Regions from separate parts of the Homo sapiens genome. Here region 2 is linked to region 1. The links are contacts of gene promoters, found by promoter capture Hi-C in blood cells and fetal thymus (Javierre and others, 2016). All regions are on one chromosome and are shown on one strand. Each heading gives the region's core, a stretch centred on a gene start or on the middle of the fragment in contact. The rest is flanking DNA. Distances are from core to core; before and after follow the strand shown. Region 1 holds the start of KRTAP19-6 (keratin associated protein 19-6). Region 2 holds the start of KRTAP6-3 (keratin associated protein 6-3).

Evidence for each region. Contacts are between HindIII fragments. The CHiCAGO score rates a contact against its expected background, and 5 or more counts as called.
Region 2: a contact is called between the fragment with the promoter of KRTAP6-3 here and the fragment with the promoter of KRTAP19-6 in region 1, in 1 of 17 cell types (neutrophils). The highest score is 5.1, in neutrophils.

The regions. Positions count from the first base shown.
Region 1 is chr21:30,539,442-30,544,799 of GRCh38, forward strand. KRTAP19-6 (keratin associated protein 19-6) reads right to left here and starts at 2,423. Exons shown (of 1, transcript NM_181612.3): 1 at 2,094-2,423. The coding sequence starts at 2,392. The coding sequence ends at 2,216. The HindIII fragment of the contact is 6,762 bases long and covers 1-2,968 here.
Region 2 is chr21:30,589,094-30,593,909 of GRCh38, forward strand. KRTAP6-3 (keratin associated protein 6-3) reads left to right here and starts at 3,347. Exons shown (of 1, transcript NM_001433434.1): 1 at 3,347-3,962. The coding sequence starts at 3,374. The coding sequence ends at 3,685. KRTAP22-2 (keratin associated protein 22-2) reads right to left here and starts at 1,304. Exons shown (of 1, transcript NM_001164434.1): 1 at 1,012-1,304. The coding sequence starts at 1,281. The coding sequence ends at 1,144. The HindIII fragment of the contact is 10,326 bases long and covers 1,614-4,816 here.

The DNA of each region.
Region 1 (5,358 bases), core at 1,173-3,672:
TTTTATTCAAGGTGATTTCTCTACCTTTGTACTTGAAAGAAAATAGGCAGCAGTAGCATAAAGCCTGGTTGATGAATGAGAAATTTACTTGCCAGTTTTATTTTCAATCCTATAAATTAACTTTTTAAGACTACATAATTTGCAATTTTGCTTGCAACTCAATTATTTTAGCAAGCGTGTATATGTTAAATTAAGTATCAGAGAGTATATTTTAAATGTTTTCACCACCCTAAAAAATAACTATGTTAGATAGTAGATTTGTGAGTTAGCTTGGTGTAATCATTCCGCAATGTAAACATATAACAAAATATAACACTGTGCCCTCATAAACATATAAAGCTATTTGTCAATTAAAAATAAAACTTTAAAAATAAGTTTAGAAAGAATAATTAGCATTAGGCAGATGCTTCCAAAATGCTGTCAAATGACCATACCTATAGGCAAAAAAGGCAGTTAAACAACAACAAAAAATAATAACATATAAACAGAACAGTACCATTCCCATCATTATTAATCGCTTATTTGAAATAAACATAACATGAACTCTCTAGAGGAACATGGTACTATTTTAGTTTATTATTTTGTATTTAGATGTTATTTTTACATCAAATCTCCTCCAAATCATCTTCCAGGTTTATAACGTCTTGTGCTAACTCTTACATGACATAGAGTGGAAAGTACCTGAAAGCTACTACAAAAACATTGTTCACTGGCAAGATGGTAGGAGTAGAAATGTATGTCAAGAATTACTGAAATTTAAGAAATTTAAGAGACCTTAAGTACTATCTAGAATAGTTATTTTCAAGGAAATTTTGACGAGTAGTCAGCAGACCAATAGCAAAACTAATGAAAACTAATTATCTAAGTTATCCTCCAGAAAATTAAAAATTAAATTGGTAAAAATGTTGTCATGGGGTTTTTCTTTTCTTTTTTTTTCTTTTCTTTTCTTTTCTTTTTTCTTTTTTTAAACAGAGTTTCATTCTGTCACCCAAGCTGGAGTGTAGTGACATAATCTCGGCCCACTACAACTTCTGCCTCCCAGGTTCAAGCGATTCTCCCACCTCAGCCTCCCAAGTAGCTGGGACCACAGGCACGTGCCACCACACCCAGCCAATTTTTGTTTTTTTAGTAGAGACGGGGTTTCACCATGTTGACCAGGCTGGTCTCGAACTCCTGACCCTGGGTGATCCACCCGCCTCGGCCTCCCAAAGTGCTGGGGTTACAAGCATGAGCCAGCGTGCCCGGCCTCTCTCGGTGTTTTTAATTCAGACATCCCTCAGGTTTACTTTTGAGAAATAATATCTTTTGGGAAGCAAGGCTTGAACTCTACAGGTAGGAACACAGAAAGACAAGTAATTTAACTTGTCAAGGAGGTAGAGTAGATTCTCATATGTTCAATAGTTTAAAATTGATTATACATAAAGGACATTATACATTTGATAAGTCAGTGTTGGGTACATGCGAGCTTTGATAGCATTCTTTAGACCTTACGTATTATTACAAATATTATTTATATTAACTCAATGTTTTATTTAAAATTCGCTTTCATTGATTAACATAGAATTACTGTGCTTTGAGATAAACCTCAGAATACAAACACACTAATTGGAATGAAGATTGCAATAAGTTATTGTTTAAAACTAAGTCATAAAAATAATAGTGTACATAATCATATTCTAAAAACAAAATCACACACAAAACCACTGAAAACAGATAAAAAGTAAAGACAGATGAAAGTACACAGTGATTTTGTCCATCTTATTCTTTTATATCTTCAGGACTTAGAATGGTGCCCAAATTTGGAGACACACAATGAATATATGTTGAATAAAATATATTATTGAGGCAAAACTGTTGAAATAAAAACACCAATTCAGAGGAAAGAAGACAAACAGCTTGATTGAAGTCTCATCAATGCATTTGAAATGTACTAAAATGAATTGATAAAGCCATGTTTGCTATTCAAGTTAAACGTGTTTATTTAAAACTATTTTAAAATACATGTCACAACAGATGTCAGTGACTAAATAATAATAGGTGAAACCCTGATTCAATGTAATGATTCCAGATTCTTCCATAAAAACTGATGGCTAGTTCCTTCTGGAGCATGAAGCCAAAAAATGGTAGGTATTTTCTCTACATTGAGAAAAGTGTTCGCCTTGCTGAAGCATACGGGCAAGATCTTGGAGTTAGAGTATGAGAATCAGCAAGTTTTTTAGTAGAATCCAGAGAATCCATATCCTTCACGGCATGATGGGCGGCAGCAGCCATATCTATAGCCTCCATAGCCAGAGCCATATCTGTAGCCTCCACAGCCACAGCCATAGCCCAGACCACCAAAGCCTCCACAGCCATATCCCAGGCCTCTGTAGTAGCTGCCATAGTATCTCATGGTGTCAGGGACTAGAGATTCAGTTCAATGCTAATGATGAGTTTCCTGAGTGTAGGTGTCTCTAACTTCTCAGAATGATTTTATACTCTAAGTAGTGGGTGTCATGAACAACAATGACAGGTGATCTTATTTCCACATAACAGAATAATTTTAAGTCTAACAATTGTTTATTTTTTTTCTTTTCTTATGTAACAAAGGGTCCAAACTATTATTTAAAGACTTTTAGTCTTTAGTTTGCATTCCTAAGAACAAAATATTTTGAAGATGAAAAATGATTATAGCCACTTCAAAGGCCAGGCTGGTGTTGTAATTAAAATGGTCTAATCGGGTTGATAGCTTCCAGTAACGCTGTAATTACATAACCTCATATTGCTTTTCTTTTTAATTTGCAGTCCATCGTCTTGGTTACTTCATTCCCAGAACCCAAGGACTTCTCTTCATGGTAGTCAGGGCATAGTCACAAAGTCATTAGTGATTTCCAGTAGTCAAATTTAGAGGAAACCTTGGTTTTTGACTCATTTGAACTTTAATTGACCTTTGACATTGCTAACCTTCCATCCATTCATTCTTTTGTAAAGCTTTCTTGCCTTAATTTCTATGAGAAACCTTCAATTAGCTTCCTCTGCCAATTTTTTGTTAGGCTTCTTCCCAATTTTTTATTCATCCATTAACTTCAAAAGTGTACCTTTTCCTCTGCATACACTTTTCCCATGAAGTTCCATTAAATATTATTTTTCTTTTTTCAAATTTTATTTTTAAGAATACATAGTAGAGTATATATATCTATGGGGTATATGAAATACTTTTATACAGACATGACAATGCATACTAATCACTGGTTAATGGAGTAATAATCACTGGTAAATGATAAATAGGGTATCCATCCCCTCAAGCATTTATCCTTTGTGTTAAAGCAATTCAATTACACTCTCTTATTTTAAAATGTTCGATTAAATCAATAATTTAATTTAAATGCAATTTAATTATACATTTTAAAATAACTAAGAGAGTATAACTTAGTATGGCCACACTTTTGTGCTATCAAATACTAGGTCTTATTCATCATTTCTATTCCTTTGTACCCATTAACCACCCCTACTCCTCCATCACTCACATCCCTCCCCACCCCTACCCTGCACCCACCTACTCCCCTTTCCATTCTCTGTTAACCATCCTTCTAGTCTCTATCTCCATGAGTTCAATTGTTTTCAATTTTTAGCTCCCACAAATAAGTGAGAACATACAAAGTTTGTTTTTCTGTGCCTGACTTATTTCACTTAGCATAATGACGACCAGTTCCATCCATTCTGTTGCAAATGACAGGATCTCATTATTTTTTATGGTTGACTAGTACTCCATTGTGTATACATACCACATTTTCTTTATCCATTCATCTGTTGGTGGAAAATTAGGTTGCTTCCAAATCTTTGCTATTATGAACAGTGCTGCAACAAACATGGGAGTGCACATATCTCTTTGATATACTGTTTTCCCTTCCTTTGGATGTATACCAGGCCTCCATAGTAGCTGCTGTAGTAGCTCATGGTGTCAGGGACTAGAGATTAGGTTTGATGCTAAAGATGAGTTTAGCACCAGCAGTGGGATTTCTGTGTCATATGGTAGCTTCATTCTTTGTTTTTTGAGAAACCTCCAAACTGTTCTCCATAGTGGTTGTACTAATTTCCATCCCCACTAATAGCGAATGAGGATTCCAAAACATCTATTTGGTTCTTTTGTCCATTTCTAATCAGATTATTAGATTTTTTTTTTCCGTACAGATTTGTTTGAGCTCCTTATATATTCTGGTTATTAATCCCTTGTCAGATGCATAGTTTACAAATATTTTCTTCCATTCTGTGGGTTGTCTCTTCATTTTGTTGATTGCTTCCTTTGCTGTGCAGAAGCTTTTTAACGTGATGTAATCCTATGTGTCCATTTTTGCTTTGGTGGCCTGTGCTTGTGGAATCTTACTCAAGGAATTTTTGCTGAGACCAATGCCCTAGAGAGTTTCCCCAATGTTTTCTTATAGCAGTTTCATAGTTTACTTTTATTTAAGTCTTTAATTCATTTTGATTTGATTTTTGTATATGGGGAGAGATAGGGGACTAGTTTCATTCTTCTGCACATGAATGTACAGTTTTCCCAGCACTATTTATTGAAGAGACTGTCTTTTCCCATGTGTATGTTTTTGGCACTTTTGTCAAAAATGAGTAGGTGTCTGAACTTGTTTTTGGGTTCTCTCTTCTGTTCCGTTGGTCTATGTGTCTGTTTTTATTACAGTACCGTGCTGTTACTGGTTACTATCGCTCTGTAATATAATTTGAAGGTAATGTGATCCTTCGTTTTGTTCTTTTTCCTCAAGATAACTTTGGTTGTTCTGTGTCTTCTTTGGCTCCTTAAAAATTTTAGAATTTTTTTTTCTATTTCTGTTAAGAGTGTCTTTGGTATTTTAATAAGATTGCATTGAATCTTTAGAGCACTTTGGGTAGTATGAACATTTTAACAATATTGATCCAATCCATGAACATGGAATATTTTTTCCATTTTTTGTGTCCTCTTAATTTTTTCATCAGCATTTTATAGTTTCATTGTAGACGTTTTTTACTTATTTGGTTGCACTAATTTCTAAGTGTTTAAATTTACATGTCACTATTGTAAAAGGGATTACTTTTTAAATTTCTTTTTCACATTGTTCACTGTTGGCATATAGAAATGCTACTGATTTGTGTATGTTGATTTTATATCCTGCAAATTTACTGAATTGTTTATCAGTTCTAATAATTTTGACTGAATCTTTAGGTGTTTTTAAATGTCAAATTACATCATCTGCAAACAATGACATTTGACTTCTTCTTTTCTAATTTGGATGTACTTTATTTCATTCTCTTGTCTCACTGTTCTGTTTAGCACTTCCAGTACTATGAATAAATATGGTCAAAGTGGTCACCCTCCTCATGTTCCAGATA
Region 2 (4,816 bases), core at 2,097-4,596, 51 kb after region 1:
CCTACGTTGATCGTTGGTAGTTCTGCTACATTTAAGAGTAGCAAATGAATTAATATGTACTATTATCTGTTTATATTTTATTCTGATTGCTTTATCATAATTAATGACTAATCATTAATAATATTTAATAAGTGGATGGAATAAACATGATAAATTATCACAGGGAGTTTCATAGAAAGTCAGCTCTCATAATTAAGACCTATCACCAGAATGCATTTGGGCCAGAAATGTGGTTTGCAAGATGTTATTCTATCCAAGTCACCACTTTAAAAAATAGTAACAGGAATTCTGCTAGAAGATGATCAGAGTTAGAAAAACTCAAAAGAGTCACTTAGATCTCTAAATGAGGTGATCTTTGCTGTGGAAACACAGGATTATCAGGCATACCAACCAGCTTCATATAGAGGATTCTTATCTATAAGAGTGAGTGAAAAGAGGTCAGAGTACTCAATGCAGGGCTGGAGTTGTATCAGTACAGAAGCACATGTTTAAATGTAGACTATTAGGAGAGAGAAAATTGCAGTAGAAAATAGCTTGGTGGGTAATAGTGCTACTGGTTTTGCCAATTACCTAGGTCAAACATTGAATTTTTCTAAAATGAAACTTGCATTAGATCAATATAGAGAACAGTATTCTTGAAACTGAACTTGAAATTACTTTTATACAAACATTTTTGGAAAAACATCAGTCATGAGTTGCCTGTTTTGTCACATCACTGACTAAAATAGCCACAGGTAGCAATTTCACTCTCTCTTTCTATTTCTCCCTTTCTCTCTCTCTCTCTCTTTCACACACACACACACACACACACACACACACAAATACACAAATGATAAAGAGAAATGAATATATATGATAAGCAATACATATTGTGAAAGTGATTATATTTATTAAAATGCAAATTTATAAGTTTTCCTGCATGGAAATTGTTAATATTATAACAGACATAAACACATAAAACTAACAAAATATCAAAGGATTTTCCCACTAACTGGTAGGAAATTCCACTAATCCAATGCAAATATGACCTGTGGTAATCAATAATTAGAGTTAGTTAAAATTGGAGAGACAATAACGAATCCATAAATAACCCTGTTGATGCAATTAGTGCATCACAAGAAAATGGCTCAAAGTGATCAGCAATCAGAATTTCTTTCTAGGAGCCAATAGGAATCTTCCATAGGAGCACGGAAAGTTGCAGGCATATCCAGAGTTACCATATTCAGAGCCATAGCTGCAACCATAGTCCAGGCTACCATAATAGTTGTGGTAGTAGCACATGGTGTCAGAAGATGGAGTTCAATTGAGGCAGATAGTAGTTTCTGAAATTTGACTCTCCTGATTTGTACAAATTATTTTATCCAACCTGAGTTATATGTGAAGGAAACCACAATCTACATTGGACTCATTCTCACAACTAATTTGCATTAAGATTAAAAAAACCCTCAAGAATCTCTTAGCCATATGTCCAGGAAAATATTAATATTGCTATGTGTCAGGATGCCAACAAGTAAAATCATGAGCCTTAAGGAGATATTCTCTTAATTTTGTGGCTTTTGCTTACTTAAAATCCCAATTTAAACTTGATGATTAGCTTCTCTGTGATCACATTAAGCTTATATTTCCTGCCTCTTGAAACATTTCTTTTTTCTTTTTCAATATCCTCCTCTACCTCCATAAATGCAGTCCTTAAACCACAGAGTGGCCAGGAATGGTTAGGGAAGGTTGGCTATGCAGTGAGGAAGCCGATGAAAATGTCTTTATTTACTTGCAAATATGCCTGTATGTTTTGACTAATTTATTTCTTAATCAATGGGACTAAAAATTTTCTTCCAAGTTCATATGTAGCTTATGTTCTTGGAGTAGTAAAGTTTTTTCTCTTCCATCATCCTCACTTTGGTTATATTATTAGTTGTGGTGTTCTCTTTGCATCTGAGAAAGCAATTAGAAACAATTACCCACCGTATCTCAAAATTCATGTTTTCCTCTCCTGACACATAATATTCACATATTTTACCTTCTTTTTATATTTAATGAATTTGCTTATTTTAAAATATATTAATTCCAAATTTCCAAAAGTATTGTAAAAATACTTTTCATCTTCTAGCAGAATTCCTGTTACTATTTTTTAAAGTGGTGACTTGGATAGAATAACATCAGCAAACCACATTTCTGGCCCAAATGCATTCTGGTGATAGCCTTAATTATGAGAGCTGACTTTCTATGAAGCTCCCTGTGATAATTTGTCACGTTTATTCCATCCACTTATTAAATATTATTAATGAATTATTAGTCATTTATTATGATAAAGCAATTAGAATAAAATATAAACAAATAATAGTACATATTAATTCATTTGCTACTCTTAAATGTAGCAGAACTACCAATGATCAACCTAGGGATCATACTTTGTAGATCAATGTGAGACTGGCAAAGTATCATATCAATAAGAGGCAAGTAGAACATTTAGTCAGAATTTCGGAACTGCACACAGTAGTTCATAAACTTTAGTGGATATATACCACCACCTTAACAATCGGAAAAGGCATGGATTCTCAAACCAGAAAAAAATCACCATGATAAATTCCTCCACTGGTTTGCATATGATCCAAAAGGATCCCAGAGTACATGAATTTATCCCCAGTTACCCCAAGCATAGAACAAAGATTGTGATTATTCTACACAGAATTTGAGTATAGAAAGTTGCATCATGTCATTCATTTGGTTATTTTTTCACTAATTCATCAAATCTTTATTAAGAATCTGCTGTATCAGGCACCGTTATAAGAAATGCAGATTGAGCAGATGAACAAAATAGACAAAGTCTCTACTTTCTGCAGGTTACAATGAGACAGAAGGGATAGAGAGACTGATTTTAAAAATGAATGAAATAGATTCTAACAGTGAAGAATCCTGTGAGAATAATAAAACTCAGTGAGTTACATTAAGTTCAGTTACTGGAGGTAGACTAATTAATATAAGGTGGCCATTAAAAGTCTCTCTGGGAAGTGAACATTTCAATTGAAATAGAAAATGAGTCAAATATTCCTGGTATTATTTTAAGAAAGAGAAATCAGTAAGTGCAGAGGCCAGGGCCTTATTGTGAGAAGAAACCTGCTGCATTTTAAAAGACAAAAAGCCAGCAGAGTTTGAGCATTATAGATAAATGGAGGAGAGTAGCAGGATATGAAATCAGAGAGATACGTAAGGGCCAGAACTTCTCAGCACAATGAAAGGCCTTTAGAGATATTTTTGCAGGGGCACGCTATGTTCTGATTCACTGAGGCATATAAAAGGCCCTCTGCGGAGAAGTGTCCATACTGAAGTCACCTACACTCCTTCCTACCCAAGGATGACCTCAACAACCAACACCATGTGTGGCAGCTACTACAGAAACTACAATGGTGGCCATGGCTATGGGTGCTGTGGCTACGGAGGCCTGGGCTGTGGTTATGGCGGCTGTGGCTATGGGTGCTGTGGCTACGGAGGCCTGGGCTTTGGCTATGGAGGCCTGGACTGTGGCTATGGAGGCCTGGGCTGTGGCTATGGCTCCTTCTGTGGCTGTGGCTACAGAGGCCTGGACTGTGGCTATGGCTGTGGCTATGGCTATGTCTCCCACTCCTTCTGTGGCTGTGGCTATAGGTGCGGCTCTGGCTATGGCTCCAGCTTTGGCTACTACTATTGAGGACACCATGGGAGACTCTCACCCTCTATCCTGTGACATTGCAATTCACCAATTCTGAAGCCCACATGCTCTGAGCCTTTCCCTTGATTGATGATATCCTGCAGTGGAAGTCTAATATGATCTGTTGTTGATCTACCATCTAACCCAAAAATACCCTGAGTTTCCATCATGAAGTGGGATAAGGTGAAGTTCACCTGTCACTTCTCCTTTTATCAGGATGATGGTGTCACAGTGACTCCTTTGATGACTTTCATGCTGTAGTTTGTTTCTCTGCTGACCTAATAAACACATTTAATCCACAAGAGAAATCTTGGTGTTTGTATCTTATTTATTGTCCAAAATTTTTTTCTTTGATTTTTTGCTTTTATCGTTATTTTTTTCAACTCTTATTTTAGGTTCAAGGGTTATATGTGTATATTTGTTACATGGGTGAATTGCATGCCACTGAGGTAATATGTGAAAGGTAGTTTTTCAACCCTTACCACCCCCCACCATCCCCACTCCAAGAGTCCCAGTGTCTATTGCTTTCATGTTTATATACATGTGCACTCAATTTTTAGCTCCTACTTATAAGTGAAAACCTGTGGTATTTGATTTTCTGTTCCTGCATTAATGTGCTTAGGATAATCACCTCCAGCTGCATCCATGGTGCTGCAAAGAATATGATTTCCACTCTTTGTTGTGGCTACATAGTATTCCATGGTGCACATGAAACACATTATCTTTTGTCAACTATTGTTAGACATCTGGGTTGATTCCATGTCTTTGCTCTTGTGAATAGCACAGCGATGAACAGACAAGTGCATGTTTCTTTTTGGTAGAACAATTTTTTTTTCTTTGGGTATATACCCAGTAATGGGATTGCTGGGTCAAATGGTAGTTCTGCTTTAAGTTCTTTGAGAAATCTCCAGATGCTTTCCAGAGTGACTGGAATAATTTAATATTCTCATCACCAGTGTATAAGCATTCTCTTTTCTCCACAACCTCACCAACACGTTTTAGTTTTTGACTTTTTTAATAGTAACTATTTTGACTGGTCACTAATGTTATGCATTAACATATATATTTGTTATATATAACAAATATATGACAAATATATATGTAACACATATATAATTTATATATGTATTT